Linked DNA regions of Homo sapiens: region 1 is linked to region 2. The links are contacts of gene promoters, found by promoter capture Hi-C in blood cells and fetal thymus (Javierre and others, 2016). All regions are on one chromosome and are shown on one strand. Each heading gives the region's core, a stretch centred on a gene start or on the middle of the fragment in contact. The rest is flanking DNA. Distances are from core to core; before and after follow the strand shown.

Region 1 (3,833 bases), core at 1,092-3,591, 900 kb after region 2:
CTCAGCCTCCCGAGTAGCTGGGACTACAGGCGCCCACTACCACGCCCGGCTAATTTTTTGTATTTTTAGTAGAGACGGGGTTTCACCGTGGTCTCCATCTCCCGACCTCGTGATCCACCTGCCTCGGCCTCCCAAAGTGCTGGGATTACAGGCGTGAGCCAAAGCGCCTGGCTGCCTTTTTTTTTTTTTTTTTTTTTGAGACAGAGCCTCACTCTGTCCCCAGGTTGGAGTGCAGAGGTGCAATCATGGCTCACTGCAACCTCCACCTCCCGGGTTCAAGCGATTCTTCTGCCTCAGTCTCCCGAGTAGCTGGGACTACAGGCGAGCGCCACATGCTCGACTAATTTTGTTTTTTGTATTTTTAGTAGAGGTGGGGTTTCACCACATTGGCCAGGCTGCTCTCCAACTCCTGACCTCGTGATCCGCCCGCCTCGGCCTCCCTTTGCAGGCGTGAGCCACAGAGCCCGGCCGGGATTGAGTAGCCTTATAATCCTTGAAAAGGACCTGAGTCAGGAACTGCTAACTTCAGGGAGATAGTCAAATACCAGCAAAATGTCTATCTGTGCTTGTGCAAGTGTGTGTGTATGTGTGTGTGTGTGTGTGTGTGTATGAGAGAGTGTGCGAGCGAGTTACTGGGGTCAAAATTTCCTTGGCTTTAAATGTCACCATTTGTGACAAAGTTAACAATGTATTAATTTAGCCGTAGAAAAGATTTGGCCCTTTGTACACACTCATTCAAGCAAAATGGAGTATCATAAAGGGAAAGGTGTTTCAGAGGAAGTAATTAAACATGAACTATAATCTATACAAAACTACAGTTTGTTCGTCTAGTTACTAGTCTCAGGGGAACAATTTAAAACTGTGTGCAAAATCAGTTGGGATTCCCATAGCTTCCCGCTGAATACTGGTAGGAATTACTGGGTCAGCACTGAATTGTCTTCGTCATATTTTGAAATCCAAGTTTAAATATATAATTTTTATTGGTTACAGGTGGAAAACCTATTGAAAATATAAAAAACTCCGTTTATAAACAGAATCTTGTCCTTATATGTCTATCAATTTTTTCCTATCCCTGTTATAAGACATACAGCTTAGTAAATAAATTTGCCTTTTGAGAAGAGTAGTCGAAAGGCCTATTTTTTTTTCACCTATAGTAAAGATTAAAAGTCAGACTAAAGCCTTTCCCCTGCACCTGAGAGACAGAACAACAAAATGTTACTGTTGTCTAGGGGTTACAAACCTGCAGGTTTTGGGGGATAGAAAGGATTTCTTGGGCCACCAGCTGTGATGATTTAATTATGTCTTCTCTCAGGTCTGTCCACAAGCAGCCCCTACTTTTGTAAGAAGGCTCCACTGAAATCATGGCAATAGAACCCAACATTCTGCAGATCCCGCTTCACAATTTCTCATTGCTTTTTCTTGTAAGACTGTAATGAACTACTGATAAGACACAGGGTAAACACAGCACGAAAATCTGGCCCCAAAGTGCCGCCAACAGACAGACCTTTGGCGGTGGGGAGCCATGGTCGGCAAGCCAGGCCCCGCGGGCGACTCTTCATTCCCTCCGGCCTGGGGCGTATGGGCGGGGGTCAGGGGAGCCCTTCCCCCTTCACTTTCGGCGCGGGTGAGGTGATCGGGGCTGCCAGCGCAGGTCTGGCCTAGGGCGGCACCCGGACCGCGGGGCACGGGACCGGCAGCCGCTCCCCGAGCGCCCTCCTCGCGGAGGCCATTATTTCCAGCAGTGCCAAAAGTCTGAGCCTTCTTCGGAGGGCAGAGGTCGAGGGCCGTGCGCCGCCTCCCGGCTACGCGACCTGTACCAGGCCCTGTGGGGTCCCGGGACCCCTGGAGCGCGCGCGGGACGGCCGGAGCCGCGGTCTGGGCACATCCCAGAGCTCGCGGGCAGGCAAATGCCGTCCTTGGCGTCTTCGCCCGCCGCTCGCGCCCGCCGCGGGCGGTGCCGGACCTCGCCCTTCCCCACCACTCCCCTCCCCCTCCAGAGCCCGCCGCGGTTCCCGAGGTGACACGGCCCGGACCCTCCATTCTCTGCCCCAGTGTATTTAACCAGCACAACCTAACAGGAAGCTCCCTCTCGGTGACAACCCTTCCCCCGACAGACGCGCCCAGCAGCCAACCACCGGCTAGAATTGGCCTGCGTCCCGCTCCCATCTCGGTGGCGGCCTCGGTGGGCGGGGCTCGGGCAGCTAGCAAGTTAAGTGGAGCCACGGCTGACGTGAGTCAACAAAGGTCACGTGAGGCGTGCGGGCCGCGCCGATTGGTGGCGCCAGCCGGGCGGGGAGGGGGGGTCACGGCGGCGGCGTGGGGTTCGCTGTGTGACACAATTACAACAACTTTGTGCTGGTGCCGGGGAAGTTTGTGTCTCCAACGAATCCCCTCAGTGCTCCCCAGCCCCGCGCGCTCCGGCCGTTCCCGCCGTCCCCGCCTGTGGCTGCCCCCTGCCCAACCCCGCGATGTGACCCTACAGCCGAAAGCCGCCGCTGCCGACCCGGGGGCTCCGCAGCCCCTGCCGCCGCCGCCGCCGCCTTCACCGCCGCCGCGTTGGGATTTTTCGTCGCCGCCGCCCGCGGCGGAGGAGGAGGCGGCGATAAAGTTGGTGTGCTGGTCCCGCGCGCAGATTGGGGGCGTCACTGCGGGCCCCGGTCCGAGGGGGGGTGTCGGCGTTGGAGTTGTGAATTCGCTGCGTTTCCATGAAATCCTGCGGAGTGTCGCTCGCTACCGCCGCCGCTGCCGCCGCCGCTTTCGGTGATGAGGAAAAGAAAATGGCGGCGGGAAAAGCGAGCGGCGAGAGCGAGGAGGCGTCCCCCAGCCTGACAGCCGAGGAGAGGGAGGCGCTCGGCGGACTGGACAGGTACGGGCCGCCGTCACTCGCCCGGTCGGCTCCGGACGGGCAGTAGCCGCTCTCCCGGGAGGACCGAGCGCGGCTTGTCTCTGGCGGCGGCGGGGCGGGCACCTCGGTTTGGCGCTCTTCGCGCCGCCTCCGCTGGGGCCTCGGGCTCGGGCAGGGACGGGTCGGTGGCGTTCCCTGAGCGTTAACGAGTAAACTGTGTCTGTCTCCACAGCCGCCTCTTTGGGTTCGTGAGATTTCATGAAGATGGCGCCAGGACGAAGGCCCTACTGGGCAAGGTAAGGCAGCTGCGAGTCGGAGCGCGGACACCGTCTCCCTGGCCGGCGCCGCGCTCGCCCCGGGCCCCGCGGCCGGGTCTGTGCTCATTGTGGCCACGGACGATGGTCGAGGGGCTTCCGGAAACTATTTCCTGCCTCTGCTCTCCCCCCACCCCCGGGTACCCTGCTTGCTCCCTTGCGAAATCGCTCTTTTCCTCTTGTAGCTGGAGGAACAGAGACGGGATCGCTTTGGGGCCGGGCTCAACTGGGTCGACACAACTGCCTGCTATTTTACAGCTTTTTGAGGGTAGGCCGATGATCTTCGAGGTGCCTGTTTAGGGTCAAGGGATCGTGAGTGTGTTCAGATTTTCCCAAATTTCGGACTTAACTTGCCTCTACGGGTTTAAAAAAATTCTTTTCCTTCAAGCAGGCTGTTCGTGATGCCTACTGCTAACCAAATGTTTTAGGCTTTCTTGTGTCCCCGCTCCCAGAAGGGGGAAGTTTCACGGAGTTTAGGTCGGTGAAGAGTTTGCATTGGGCTGTTGACATGTATCTCGATTGCAGTGTGTGTTACCTGAAGTTAGGTGACTTGTTTACTTTTTGGGTCTTTTTGGCATAGAAATACCGTAGTTATTTGTAAACGTGTTCTCTTCCTGGAGCCTCATTTCCTGTGTGTCTGACAGGGGAGGCTGGGGAGGATTCGGGGTGTAGTC
Region 2 (3,443 bases), core at 757-3,256:
AAAATAAATGAGTTGGAAATTGTTAAATGTATTGAAAAATGATTTATTTTTCCCTTGACAGTGTCATTGGAACTCGAATTAAGATTGAAAACTCCACAGGCACATTTCCATCTGTGGGTGTCAGCTGCTTGGTACACAGTCGTAAGAAGGCCTCAGCCAGTTCTCCCGTTACCTGAACCAAATGTATTTTAAAATAAATGATGCAAAACATTGCATTTTGTGTTCAAATACTCTCATGTAATGATCTGAATAATAGTCTAAGAAAATTGTTTTGATTCAGCTAAATGCTTTGCTAACCGCAGTTTTTTTAAAAAAAAATTACAATAAAATTTTACAGCAATGGAATCCATAGTGTCTTTTATGGCTTTCTTGACTAATGAATACCCCAAAGTTGTAAATTAACCTATTCAAATATCAGATTTTCATTCAGCGATGCTTATTGGGCTGGTTATCAGAGAAAATCAGAAAAGTTTTGCATAAACTGTGTACCAATTTGCAATGAAAACTGGCAAACAGGACCATAAAGTTTCCTTGAATTAGTAAGACTGATGAGAAGAAAATGAGCAGATATTTGCATCTGGTTTAAACGCTCAGTTGAGAAGCATTGTGCCGTCCCCGCTGTATTTGGTTGACACCCACAGCAACTCCCCATTTCAGTCATCTCTCTGTTTTCAAATGCACCTGGTATTTAATCTTATGTGTTGGGGTAATTTGCCAATGCCAGCTCCTTGTAATTAAAATACACTAATATTAGAAATGAAAAGAGACATGTTTCACAGCAGCCATATCTGTTATTAATGAGTTACAAAGAACTGTACAAGGGACTCCCATCTTGCCAAATAGCTTCCTTTCCCGCACCTGAATCTCAGTAAAGATGGGAGTCTGCCTCTCATGGAGGCTTATCTGGGTTTGTCTATTACAATGAGCCTCAGTTACTGGGCGTTCTGAGTCATTAACATTCTGTACACAATCAAACTTCCCGTCCCCCAAGAAAGAGTTATGCCCAGGCCTCCTACAGCTCAATTGTTCATTTAAAGAGAGAACTTGTATTCCAAAGTTTGAAAGAAACCTCGGAATATCCCGCAGGTAGGAGTCATTCCTACAGGTCCTGGTCTCTGTGCTGGTGGGAGCATCCTTTCCCGGTCACTCCTTGAACATCATGCTGCAGGGACGAGCTGATGACTAAAAATAACCCCCTGCAATAAGTCCAAGGCAAACAGCATGCATTTCCTCGGACTTTTTGCCCAATCAAAATCATACAGTAAATCCATCCTCATCTCCTCCCGGTGCTCCCCAATGCATCTATGGAAGCGAAGACCTGCACGCTGAAAGAAGAGTGCAAGGGAGCAGGATTCCTGCAAAGCGTGACACAGAAAGCTAGAAATAAATGTTGCCTATTGTTTGAAGTCATTCTGAGCACTCCGGCAGAGCCCTGGCAGGAGATCAGCAGCATACATAAGTAGTAATAAAAGTAAACAGTGCGCTTTTAAACTCGCAGTCTTGCCTGCGTTAATAGTGCCCCCATTGTAAGTGGGATGAGGGTGCTGGGGAAGATACTGGGCTCCATGAATCCATGTTGGCAAGTTGCTGCTTCGCAGCCCCCTTTCACGGGGTCAACTATAAGAACCATCACAAAGTTACATCTAACTACGCAGAGAGTTTGAAAAGAAAAATCTCTTTAAGTCAAACCAAAAGATATTTTCAAGCTTTTCTAGGAGGCTCCCTGCTCTGTCACAGACTTCAAAGACCCGTTCATTTAAGAAACACAATGCTAGCATGCTACAGATTAATGCAAATTAAAGTAATGCAAATTTAAGTGGTATTTAAAGGTTGTCTCTTTGTCTGAGAGGAGGATGAAATGCTCGGTTTGGAAAGAAGCGATTTCCTAGGCAAGCCGGCAGCGCTTGTTTTCCTGCTTACCTTAGGGGAACGCAGGGCTCCTTTCTTCTCAGACTTTTCTGAGAGCTAGAAAGAGGTCCTGTTACTTCCAAATGCTTTTGTTCTTCTGTCCCTCTGTCACATGGCTTGCCTTTTATATTTGCAACACACAAAAGTTAGGACTGTTGTTTAAGCGACACAGGGAGAGAGAGAGAGGGAGAGAGAGAGGGAGAGAGAGAGAGGGAGAGAGAGAGAGAGAATGTCAAATGGAAAAGTGCCATTGCAGTCATATATCAATCAGGCGTGCGGCCGCAGCAGCGCACTAGCAAATGGGAATGCCACGGAAATGTGAGGCGCTCGTTATCGGGGACTCAGCCTCTGCCCACCGCTCGGCTCCCTTCCACGGAGCATCTTACGATGGGAACAGCGTAGCAGAACAAGGGCGAGGAAGTTTCTTTCTTTCTTTCTTTTTTAATGGTATTATGGAACTAATAAGAGGCCAAATGAATATTCTGAATTTAATTCTTTTTCAAGCATGTGGCTGCCATAAAGATGTGCCGTCCGCAATAGAGACGTATAGTTTTGGAAATACAAAGGCAGTGTGGCATTCTGTTGAACGATTCGGCAGCTGACTGTGATGAAGTTGAAATTTTAAGTAAGAGAGGGGAAAGATGGGAACCAGAAATTTTTTTCTCAGGCGATGCTGTTAAAGCAAGTGCAAAACGCTGCCCTATTTTATCACGATGTGTGTGGGTGGTGAGAGTTCTTTTTTTCCGGGTTGTTCATCCATTAAATGATTTTTAGCAGCATATACATGATTAAATTCACAATGGCACTTTAATAAGCCCCTTCATCTGCATCATTTAGAATAAAACTTTAGGTCTGATTTAGAAACAATGAGAACGTGTATTCCTTGACTCCTTGAGCTATATGAAGGAGAAACTAATAGATAAAGCTAACCCATTACACAACAACTAGTAGAAAAGTGACAAAGGTAACTATGTGTGTGGGTTAAATACCTGCAGCTGAATCATGCTGTGTTATGAGCTGTGGGACTACAAAGGCAAATATTTCATAATTCTTGCCCTTTGAAAGCTTAAAATTAACACAGAAAACCGTCAGGGATTTTGGAGGAAAATACAAAGAACATTTAATAATTATTTTATGTCAGGTAAATCAGACCCAGAATAATTTGTTTTATTAATACTACTGATGAAGAATTAAACTGAGAATTTAAAATATATATATTTCGTGGAAAAAATAATACATTATAAAACTCAAAAAGAAATTTTTCTTGGGAGCTTCATGTAATTGTTGATGCTGAAACTGTCTTGTTCAACTCTGTATCAAACTATTTGTTATTCATTAATAAATTTACATTCACCTTATTACTTTTCCATGGGACCTTTACTCCAGTCACTGATATTTGCAAGAGGTGTCTTAAAACTTTCAGTTTTATTGCCAGAAATCCCTTTTCTTATGCTCCACTTGGAAAAAAAAATACCCTGTCTACCTTGGACCAGCCAGTCACAAACAGAATCCACCTGCGAAGATCATGGATAAAT

Evidence for each region. Contacts are between HindIII fragments. The CHiCAGO score rates a contact against its expected background, and 5 or more counts as called.
Region 1: the fragment with the promoter of KDM6A here is called in contact with the fragment with the promoter of NDP in region 2 in 4 of 17 cell types (endothelial precursors, naive CD4 T cells, fetal thymus and 1 more); the score reaches 5.9 in endothelial precursors.

What each region holds. Positions count from the first base shown.
Region 1 is chrX:44,870,847-44,874,679 of GRCh38, forward strand. KDM6A (lysine demethylase 6A) reads left to right here and starts at 2,342. Exons shown (of 30, transcript NM_001291415.2): 1 at 2,342-2,866; 2 at 3,078-3,141. The coding sequence starts at 2,706. RefSeq lists silencers at 1,532-2,031, 2,282-2,511, 2,852-3,111, 3,152-3,231, 3,242-3,341. The HindIII fragment of the contact is 16,030 bases long and covers 1-3,833 here.
Region 2 is chrX:43,971,384-43,974,826 of GRCh38, forward strand. NDP (norrin cystine knot growth factor NDP) reads right to left here and starts at 2,007. Exons shown (of 3, transcript NM_000266.4): 1 at 1,921-2,007. It overlaps NDP-AS1 (NDP antisense RNA 1), which reads left to right. Exons shown (of 6, transcript NR_046631.1): 6 at 62-169. The HindIII fragment of the contact is 1,267 bases long and covers 1,705-2,971 here.